Linked DNA regions of Homo sapiens: region 1 is linked to region 2. The links are contacts of gene promoters, found by promoter capture Hi-C in blood cells and fetal thymus (Javierre and others, 2016). All regions are on one chromosome and are shown on one strand. Each heading gives the region's core, a stretch centred on a gene start or on the middle of the fragment in contact. The rest is flanking DNA. Distances are from core to core; before and after follow the strand shown. Region 1 overlaps SNX1 (sorting nexin 1). Region 2 holds the start of FBXL22 (F-box and leucine rich repeat protein 22).

Region 1 (6,967 bases), core at 817-3,316, 540 kb before region 2:
GCTTGGGTAAGACTCCTCTCCAAGCTTCCAGAAGGCCAGTGCCATGCTGCTTCATGCTACTCCCAGGGCTGGATGGCAGGGATCCAGTAGGTGGCCTCATGCCAGTGACCAATACTATGGCTTACAGAAGTGCCTCCCTCAGATCAGTCAGTTCATAAGGCTACATACTTTCCCTGAGTGCCTGCCATGTGCCAGGAGCTAAGAATACAGTGGATGAAACTCATGGTCCCATTTTCATGGAACTTGTCATCTAATGGAAAAGGCCAACATTACATTTACAATTACAAATAGATACAAGTATGCAGACTACTGGGAAAGCAGCAGGGTACTATAACATGAAACCAGAGGCCTAGCTTAGCCTGGGAAATATGTCAGGGAAGTCCACCCTAAGGACCCAGCCTTTAAACTGACACCCAAATAATGCACAAGGTTAGCTTAACAAATCTTTAAATCAACACCTAAAACCACCATAGGGCCACATTGCTTTTTCCCAACCACACACTCACCTGCTCTAGGCTACCAAGGCCTCCAAGAAGCTCCCCAAAATCTATTTGCTAGTTTTCCTTGTTTCCAGTTCCTTGACCACAATCAGCATTTCCAGGGAAGGAAGCTGCTGGCCTGACTAACCACGCCCACCCGGACTTGCTTAATAGGCCCCAAGCAGCAGCCTGGATCAAGGATCTGTGCCTGGGGCCAGCCGCCCAGCCGGGTTCCAGCGGCTCCCTCACTGCCCTGCAAAAGTTCCCCGAATATTTTCTTTTTAGACGGAGTTTCACTCTTGTCACTCAGGCTGGAGTGCAATGGCGCGATCTTGGCTCACTGCACTGCAACCTCCACCTCCTGGTTTCAAGCGATTCTCCTGCCTCAGCCTCCTGAGTAGCTGGGATTATAGGCACACACCACCACGCCCAGATAATTTTTGTATTTTTAGTAGAGATGGGGTTTCGCCACACTGGCCAGGCTGGTCTCGAACTCCTGACCTCAGGTGATCCATCTGCCTCAGCCTCCCAAAGTGCTGGGATTACAGGCGTGAGCCACCACGCCCCAACCTTCCCTGCATATTGTCTATGCCTCCTCAGCACAGGCTTTTGCCAAAACTTGAACCTTAGGGAATGCAATGCCACCAAATTCACCTGCCCCAGGATTGTCACTGCTGCTACCCTGCAGCATCTTAACACCTCAATGTCAAAAGATTAGGTAAAGGGCAACCTCTTATCTGAGTTAGTTAGACTCAAGCCCAACCCACTGGCCTAACAGTGGTCCGGCTCCATGCTCAGGGAAGAGCAGAAAAGAAACCTTTGCTCTTCTCTCCAATCCCACCACCAGGCTCATAAGCATGAGGTAGGCAGATGAAGGGTCTCTGAGAAAAGACCATTCGCAATTATGTGCCATGAGGCACACTTCCCCAGCCCCAGCCCATGTAGCTCTAAGCAAGGCCCTCACCCCTGTGGTACAAGCTCACTCTGCCTGGGGGCCATATCCAAGAACTGTGCTCTCCAGAGACCCCAAACAATGCTCCTCATAGAAAGCTTCCCCCAGAGGGTGCCCTTCCTGCAGCTGGCTCTCCAGTCTAAGTAGCCTGCCCAGTTCTAAGAATTACATAGCAGGTAGACTCATCACTCTGGAGTTAGCAGCAAACCAAATAGCAATGGGAGAGGACAATGAGCAACCTTCCAGGCTCTATGAGGCATCTCCACCACGGGGTAAGTGACAGCCTGGGAGCAGCTCAGCTCCTGACACAACGCACAAGCTCCCTAATGGGAGATATGTTGGGGACGGGGAACGAGCGGGGGGCACTGTTCTAACTCTGAGGCTCACACATCCTGATCCCAAGCGAAATCAAGGACAGACTTAGGCCCTTAGAGTGTAGGTGCCAGGCTTCCTCTTGGTTCTTTCCTCTGTCTTAGGGAGGCCATGCGACAGCTAATACTACTGTCAAAATTCCTTAACCTTAATCACTAGGAGTGCTCACGGGGAAACCACACTGCTTGATCACCAGGAGAAAGAGTGAGGTGCTTGACGAGGGGCAGGCTGGAATGTTACCAGTGTGGGGTGACACAGCACAGGAAGGCTCTGGTGACAAGCTCTCTCAGTCCCCTGGCCGCACTCCTCCATGCAATGCCAAGCCAGTTCCATGTAGTTACCTGACTGCCCATACTGGAAGGACAAGTGGAAGTCAGCAAGAGCTCTTAACCAGGGCAAAGCCACCAGTTACTGTTAAGGAGGCAAAGACCAAAGGACTGAGGAAGTCACTGCTCCAGGGGACCAAGAGAGTAGGTCTGTAAGCAACCTTGCTTCAAGAAAGGACCACAGAAGACACTGTCTGGCCTCAACAATAAAGGGCAACCTATTCGGAAATTCAAGAGTGGTCTTTTCTCCAAATGCCATCTAGGAATCTTGGCTGTGGGGCTCAAAATGATTCAGTGATAACTAGCTAACAGGTGAATAGATTGCTTGGTTTACAGGATACCTTTCCTCTTAAAAGTAGAAAAAGTGACACCTATTTACAAGCTATAATGGGATGAAACTGTCTTGGGAAGGGGACCAGCAAAGGAAAAACAAATCAAATCAAGGGAAGGAGGAGAAAAGGAAACAGAAGCTTACGCGGACTATGGCCAGGAGGCGAATGTAGTCACTCAGGAGCTCAGCAAGGAGGAAGAAGTCATTGTTGGCCTGTTCCTGGTGGAGCTGCTCAATTTTTTCTTCCACCTCAGCCAGCTGGGAGAGTGCCCGTGACAATGCCGTGTTGTCCTCAGAGCTCCCAAGCATGGCTAGACTCTTTGCAAACTGGGCTGTGTTCAGCGCTAGCTCTGGAAGGAGGAAAAGACAGCAGAGGCCTCTCTGATCTCACAAGGAAAAGGGACAAATCAGCTGACACTGCATGGCATGTCTTAGCAATGCCGCCCACTGCATATCTGGGAACTGAGGGCTCTGCAACCCAGTCACTTACACCACAGTTAACTGTATTCAGAGAGTAAAGAGAATGTGGCCTGGTCACAGGAGCAGGAGGGAGAGGCACCAGCTGTCCTGAGTTTCACTGGGTTAGGCCTACCTGAAGGAAGCAGCTCCAATATCCCTGGAGAACCAAAGCCCAGTTGTTAAATAACAAACAGGCCAAAGAAACTATTCTTATATTTATGTTGAAGCTCATGAGTGGTAGCCTCTCTGTACAAGAGAGAAGAGTGAATACATGTGCACATCGTATAGTCTTGCACGTTCTAGAGTAGGGCAAACTTTGTGTAAAGGAGTGCAGTGGCGCCATCTCAGCTCACTGTAACCTCCGCCTCCCGGGTTCAAGCAATTCTCTGCCTCAGCCTCCCAAGCAGATGGGATTACAGATGCCCACCACCACACCTGGCTAATTTTTTCTATTTTTAGCAGAGACAGGGTTTCACCATCTTGGCCAGGCTGGCCTTGAACTCCTGACCTCGTGACCCACCTGCCTCGGCCTCCCAAATTGCTGGGATTACAGGCGTGAGCCACCGCGACCGGCTAATAATAAATTTTTTAGATTTTGAAGGCTACACATAGTCTGCTACAGATTCTTTTCTCCCCTCATTCATTCCTTTAAAAATGTAAAAACCTAAATTTGTAGCTCATGGCAATAGGAACCAGGGTCAGATTTGGCCCATGGGCCAGATTATACTTTGCCAACCCTTACTTACCCTGGCCTCATGCTATGGGTCTTCTGTCTGTTTCAATTTCTAATTATCAGCATGTTTAAGGCAAAGAGGGAAAAGATTCAAACTGGGAAAATTTCACAAGCTCTTAAGCAAATTTCACTAAAGAGAGATGCAGAAGGATTAGGAGACAGGTGGTTTCCTTGCATTTACGCATTGCTGGTTTGACCATGTAGCTCAAGCATGTATGACATCATTTTGGATGTAAGCCATCAAGTCAAAATCAACAGAAGCCCATATCCCAGGTCATGCTGTATCTGGGATGGCTTCCCTGCACCCCTCCCAGGTAGAAAGCACAATGCCCACAGTGGTTGAATCATGTTTTCTGCCAGGAGACACAGGGCATACCTTTTTTTTATCAGAACATCAAGGACCAGGTGGGCTGAGAATTTCAACTTGGATGGCTGAGAGGATTGGAACAGCATGCCCTCGCATCTCCAGTTCACTAGAGACAACAATTTCCCCTAGCTCCAAGTGCATTTCAGAGCTTGTTACCTTTCCTATGGTTGACTAGAGTTTCTACAACAGCATGCAGTTTCCGTAAGCGCTGCTCCTCACACTCTACCTCCTGGAGCTTCTCCTCAAACCACTGAAACACAAAAGCCCAGAACTTTAATGAGATTACTTTTATGGGTGCAGTACAGTCTTTCTTTAGCAGTTGTTTCTCAAAAAGGGACTGAAAAATCTTATAAAAAAGTTTCTAATCTCAGAAATTTCAGGACTCCTTAGGGGTTCTGACCCATAAGCCTGAGGTGTAGGTGGAGGTAAGAGGCACAGGGCTACTCACAATGTCTGATTCATTCATCTTGATGGTCATTTTGCTGACGGCATCTGTGGCTTTGTTGAACATCTTGAGGAGACCAGCACCACTCAATGTCTGGGTACCCACGGCACGTGGCAGCTACAAGACCAAGAAGGCAGGGATGGCAAGTTATCTGCTGCCCCTATTTTAGGTTCAGAAGAATTAGTATCCATCAGATGGCATGCCAAAACTTGCCAGACAAATTATTTGAACTGTAAATTGTTTTCAAAGGCAGTCTGAGGAATCCACAACTAACATGTCCATACAGAAAAATCAAAGAACCATGTTAAAAAGAATCAGCAACATTTTCAGCTTTTGATATTTTATACAGAAAAAAAGTAGACTGGGGTGTTACGTGGCCAGGTGACCTCAAATTGAGATTGTCTGCCTACCCAGGCATGAACTGCTTAAGTACCAAGCATACTCTTGTTAAAAGTCAAAAGTTCCCTTGGATTAGCACACTTTGTACAAAACCAGACTTAAAAGTCTTAAGACACTGAAATCGTGCTGTGTTCGAATTTTCTTCAGTGAACAAATATCCGAGGACAAGAAAATTATTGATTCAGATCAAGGCTACTTTCAGGGATAACCTAGTAGTCAAGCATGCCAAATATTCAGAAACAATCTGATTGCTGTTCAGTCTCCCCAGTACTCTCCTAGGGCATGGAAAGGACGCTGAAAAATCTATAGCATATACAGCACACTATGCTAAAAAGTCAGATTTTAGTGTTCAGGACTCTATGGCAGTAGTTCTTTTTTTTTTTTTTGAGACGGAGTCTTGCTCTTGTCGCCCAGGCTGGAGTGCAGTGGCACGATCTCAGCTCACGGCAACCTCTGCCTCCAGGGTTCAAGTGATTATCCTGCCTCAGCCTCCCAAGTAGCTGGGATTATAGGTGCCCGCCACCACGACCCGCTAATTTTTGTATTTTTAGTAGAGACAGGATTTTGCCATGTTGGCCAGGCTGGTCTCGAACTCCTGACCTCAGGTGATCCTCCTGCCTCAGCCTCCCAAAGTGCTGGAATTACAGCCAAGAGCCACCGCGCCTGGCCTGGCAGTAGTTCTAAACTTGGGGCCACTTTGCTTCCTAGGGGACATTTGGCAATGTCTGGAGATGATTGTGGTTGTTATAACTGGGGAGGGGGTGCTACCTGGATCTAGTGGGTAGGTACCAGGAATGCTGCTAAAACCCTCTACAATGCATAGGACAACCCCTACAACAAAGAACTATCTGACCCAAAGTGTCCACAGTGCTGCTACAGACATACCCTGCTTAGGGGTATGGAGTAAAGACGAGAGGGTGAAAAGGCAGAAGGGATTTAAGAATATCCACAAGAAAAGACTAAAAGATTTGAAGCATTTGACAGGGAATTTTTAATGAAAACATTTCATTTTAGAGGAGAAAACCCCCTCATTTATTTAGTATCATTTTCTTCACTGGAGTAACACATACTACATACAAATGAAAGAAAAATTTAAAAATAAAAATTAAAGCAAAATGATAGCCCTACCCAGTCACTTACTTCCTTCTAGTTTGCTTTCCTGTGAGATAAAACATTTCACTCCAGTGTTTCTTTTGATCCTTAATGACTTACATGTTTCTACAGCTGTATTTATATGCTATTTCATGTTTCAAATTTTGTAATTCTTTTAACATACATGTCCATGTACTAACATTTCTGTATACTTTGTTTATGATGAGAATCAAGTATTTGGTTATATTGATATATTTTACTTAATTCTTCCACTGTTAGCAATTGGGCTGTTTTCAGTTTTTGACAATCATGACTAGCCTACGCATAGCCTGTGAAAGAGACTGTCTACTTCAATCAACACTTTTCCTACATGGTAGTTCTGTGGTTTGTGGTAACTGTTAACCAGTGACCCGCCTGGCATAAAATATACATTCAATCTGAGCCAAGAAGTAACCTACAACATGCCAAGGACCTGCCAAATAGATCACTGTGTTGATCCAGTAAGACAATACTAGGCTGCTATTTGACCCTTACAACCAACTGCTTTTGACTTCGGGCAGAGCTTCTTTTATTTCAAAGGCTGAAAAATACTTGTCACTCTCAGGGGTTCACACAAAACTAGGATACAGTCTAGTACTAGGCATGTTAAGTGCTCACATATTTTTGGAATGAACTAGTTTCGTTTCACTAGGGGCAGATATAAATTATGAAATTCAGTTTGCACTGAATACTAACCTCTTCTTTTTCCAAGAACTCTCTGACGTCAGGGTCCTGTAACATGGTAGGATGATTTACAATCCTCTGAAGGTACCTAAAAGGTAAGCAGTTATCATCTGGTTAGTTGAGCTGGCCTCAGAAGGTTCTGGGCGTCACACAGTGCTGGCAGTGATACCATGTCTTCTGTACTTTTTGTACTTAAAGTACCCTAAGATAAGGTACTTAAGTAGGTCTCTCCTTGTAAGCATATTCAAGTTCACATTCCTGACATTTCCAAAAAGGGAGGGAAAAATAA
Region 2 (3,971 bases), core at 11-2,510:
ATGAACAGCCAGGGCCAGTTTGTTATATGATCAAGGGGGTGTTTTTCCTCAAAGGCAGCACGGGACTGGCAGAAGCTCAGTGAGAGGCTGGTTGAATAGCTCTGTGTTCTTGCCTGGGCCGCTCTGCCCATGAGGCTGGGACCATGGAGGGAGCCTGGCCTGGTGGTTCAGTGTCTATGTCTGTGTCTGGGGTGGGGGTTAGCAGATAAACACAAGATGTATTTGGGACATACTTACACTAAAATATTATTCACTGTTTATCTGAAATTCATATTTAACTGGGCAGCCTATATATTTGCTAAAATCTGGCAACCCTAGACTGGGCAAATCATACCACCTCGTGGAGCATCAGTTTGCTAATTTGAAAAATTAGGCTAAGCCACCCTCCTTAGGAATACTGTGTAAATCAGTAATTCATCTACTCCTGGAGTCTGGTTTGGCTCAGCTGACCTGAGCACCCTGGCTTCTCCACCTCTGGCTCCCCACCCTCTCTTTCCTCCGTAGTTTCCCAGGCCTTGAGGGCTGCTTGCTAGGCCTAATGGAGGGGTGAGCTGATTGCTGCATCTGGAAGCCTTTTCCCAGAGCCTGACCTTGAAAATCCAGGCCCAGCTGGACCCACCCAGCACTTAATGACTACCAGTACGGAGGCCCCACTTCTTGGTGTTTGCATGAAGCAGCCCAGGACCTGTGAGGCTAAGAGGAGGATTAGCAATTGTTTCCCTCATGATTTTATTGTCTCCTGGGGACCCTGCTTTGGGCGGTCTGGATGTCTGCCTTGGGCCTAGTTTGAGGCGCCCCGAAGGTGGAGCCATCTTGGTCTCGTAATTTGCTCTTCCCTGCCCCCCAAGAGGGAAGCCAGAGCTAGCGGGGCCAGCACTGCTCAGGAGGCAAGGTGGCCTACCTGTCGCACACCCGGAGGAGGAAATCATTGACCAGGCTCTCGTGCCGGCTGCAGATGCTTCTCTGGAAGGCACTCTTGAGCCAGTCCTCAATGCTGCACACCTGCACGCGGCTGGAGTGCCAGCAGATGGAGAGGCTGCGGAGTGCCGGGCCCAGGAGGAAGTTGTCCTTCTGGAGTTCAGTGAGGGAACGGAAGTGCAGCAGGGACCAGAGTGCGGGGTCCTCAAACACGTCGTGGAGCTGGGAGCAGGTCCTGGCAAGGCTCTTCCTGCTGTCCTTGTCTAGGAAGGAGAAGAGGTGCAGCAGGCACTCCCGGTTGAGCTGGGTTATGTGCATGGTGAGCAGTGGCCACATGTGAGTGCAGCTGCAGCCGGGGGACGGCTGACCTGCCTCCTCTCCTCCTCCCCGACTCTGGGCCGGTGGACATATATGGTTGAGGAATGGTGTTTATTTTTGGCTAACAACTGGTGCTGAAGCTCTGCGGAGGGGTGAGGGAAGAAAAGCCAGGACCCAGACACATGTGCGGCAGTCTGTGGTTCGGCTTATGTTCAGAGGGATTGGAGGTCCTGGCAGAAAAGGAGCCTATTGAAGTTACTTTCCTTAAAAGGGATTTTTTTTTTCCCTTTAGCTGACAATGGTGTTTAGCAGTGAGCACTTTTGGCTTTTCCCAAGGCGTTTTCATTGGCAGTGGTGGCGGCCAGGCCAGCTCTGTCTGGCTTTGCAGTCTGTACTTAGGGGGAAGGAGTGTAATTGTAAATGTTAACTGTTTTGATTTTCTAGTACATCAGTGTGAATCTTTTGCTCCACCCTTACTAGGAAGAAACCTGTTGCGTGTGGAGAGCTAAGGGTGACGGTTGTGAGTTGTGAGCAGAGTCCATGGCTGCTGCCTCATTCCTGTTATTTTTGTGCCATAGAGTAATTGTCTCCAGGCTAGGCTGGTTGGCCTTCAAGCCCTGCTGCCTGCCACTAGGCAGGGGGATTTTCCTGGGCCTCCCCAACAGCTAGATTTTTACCCTGAGTTGTTTCATAAAAGAATTTTACTGAAGTAGCTGCTTTCCAAAGTTGTGTGTCTGTGTTTTATGTTTTATTGGTGCTTTGTTGTTGTTGTTGTTGTTTTTGTAGTTTTGGTCAAGCAGTACTTTCTGTGTTTTAAATTTAAATTTACTTGGCTTTACATTTTCTCACTGATAAGGCCTTGTACTATGTATAACCTGTACTTCCCAAAATGTCAGGATGGATGAGGTAGCTCTTAATGTGAAACTGCTTGAAACAATTTTAAGTTCAGTATTTTAGTCCATCTTTGCCTTTAAGTTGACCACACACCATCCATTCTATGAGTGCCCTCCGTTCCCTCTTGGAGAAGCCAGTGGGCCACCCCTGCCCTCTCTGACTCAACTCTAGGCAAGGTGCCTGGAGGTACTATCCGTGAAGCTCCCCCTTCCTGAGTACCCGAGGCTTCACGATATGGCAGACCCGTTTCCTCATGCTGCTTCACTCCCAAACCCAGGACCCAACCTTAACTCTCCTGCTTTGAATCCCAGTCGTTGTTTTTTGGTTTGCTTGGGGGATGCTGATATGGTGCAGCTGTATAGGCCACGTTCTGCCTAGGCAATAGTGAGAAGAGAATGGTTTTTCCTCTGCCAGCCCAGGGACCACCACCTCAGTGGTTACTTCTGTTTGTTCTCCCATTTGGAATAAGAGGGAATGGGAATCCTTGTGTTTTCCCATAGACACAAATGAAGCAGCCTATGCTGAACCCACTTCTGGAACTAAGGTTTGGTCAGGGCTGGTGCAGCTTTGCCTTTAAAGCAGAAGGCAGTCAAGCAAAGAAGGAAGTAGCCATTGTCAGTGGCTTTCCTGAGAAGCCAGCCTCAGCTGGTGCCCCTGTGCCTCCATTACTCCACCATGCCAAGATGAAGTACAGTAGGGGGTTCTCTTAAAAACAAACCAAGGAGGTCGAAAGGAAGCATTTCCCAAGGAAGGGGAGCAAGATACTGCTGCTATTTCAAGCTCATCAATGTAGTTCTGAATTATAGCTGACACCCTAATTTAGGCTCTGTCTAGGTGTACTTCTCCACTTAAAATGGATGCTGCAAAACCACAGGTGGTGTTATTAGAAAGCCACATTATCTCCACTTTCCCTCCCCAATCCTCCTCAAACCAATGCTTTTCAGAGGGTTTGACCCTTAGGAATAGGTGGTTCTTTCCACTTCTTGCAAGGCCAGAGTGGTACTTGTGCCTTCCACTGAGTAAGTGTCACTGTGCTTCAGCATGGCTTCCAAGTTGCACTACTGCAGCCCAGCTGGAATGGCAAAAGATTGGCAGGGAGAACATTTAGAGCATTGCCCCTCTGCTGTTCCTCCAGGTAGGCTGCAGGAAGCATCCTAGACTACCAGGGCCAGGGGGAATGTGCTCCTGCATGCTGCAGAGGGTCTGAGGCACAGCCAGGAGATGACGAAGCTCTGCCCCTTTGGGCTTGTCCAGAGCTATGCTGTTTGGCAGCAGTGACAGCAACCACGCAGCCTCTGACCAGCACAGCTGCCAAAAGAATGTGCCCTACGGAACAAGGATGCATAACAATTTGAGCTGCAGGCACCTGTGTCTTCAATTTTAGAAGACTGACAAGAACAGGCAAAGGATGACTGTGGAAACAGGGTTCTGTCTGCAGGAGGCATGGGGGCAGGGAAGTAGTCTATAGGAACTTACTGTAAACAGGATGTTTATTTAAAAGCACTTATTTGCCTGTTTTACCTTAAAAGATGACCAGTATCCTTTGCTCAGAGCCCCAAAACTAGTGCCTCAGGGTAGAGTCTAGCTCTAAAGGGGAAGGGAAGGGGCCTCATTTTTATAAGATCAATAGTCACAAGAGACTGAGGGTGATTTCACTGGGCAAGGCCGAGTGGGACCTCAGGCACCTGACTGCAGGCACTCATCTCCAGGCCATCACTTTGCCCATACAGGTCACTTCATCCTGGCCCAGGTACTGCAGCTCCAAATCGTGGGGATTCTGTAAGAGCTTGCTACCTGTTGACTGAGGAGGCCCACGAGTTGAGTAAGTACATCATCATTTA

What was found. Contacts are between HindIII fragments. The CHiCAGO score rates a contact against its expected background, and 5 or more counts as called.
Region 1: a fragment that was not itself captured here is called in contact with the fragment with the promoter of FBXL22 in region 2 in 2 of 17 cell types (fetal thymus and naive B cells); the score reaches 5.2 in fetal thymus.

The regions. Positions count from the first base shown.
Region 1 is chr15:64,127,530-64,134,496 of GRCh38, reverse strand. SNX1 (sorting nexin 1) reads right to left here. Exons shown (of 15, transcript NM_003099.5): 8 at 6,691-6,766; 9 at 4,468-4,581; 10 at 4,176-4,269; 11 at 2,605-2,810. Among named protein-coding and RNA genes, the nearest start is that of SNX22, 21 kb to the left of the region's middle. The HindIII fragment of the contact is 1,070 bases long and covers 1,532-2,601 here.
Region 2 is chr15:63,594,676-63,598,646 of GRCh38, reverse strand. FBXL22 (F-box and leucine rich repeat protein 22) reads right to left here and starts at 1,260. Exons shown (of 2, transcript NM_001367807.1): 1 at 902-1,260. The coding sequence starts at 1,254. It overlaps USP3-AS1 (USP3 antisense RNA 1), which reads left to right. Exons shown (of 3, transcript NR_034080.1): 2 at 3,861-3,952. RefSeq lists an enhancer at 3,892-3,941. The HindIII fragment of the contact is 9,685 bases long and covers 1-3,971 here.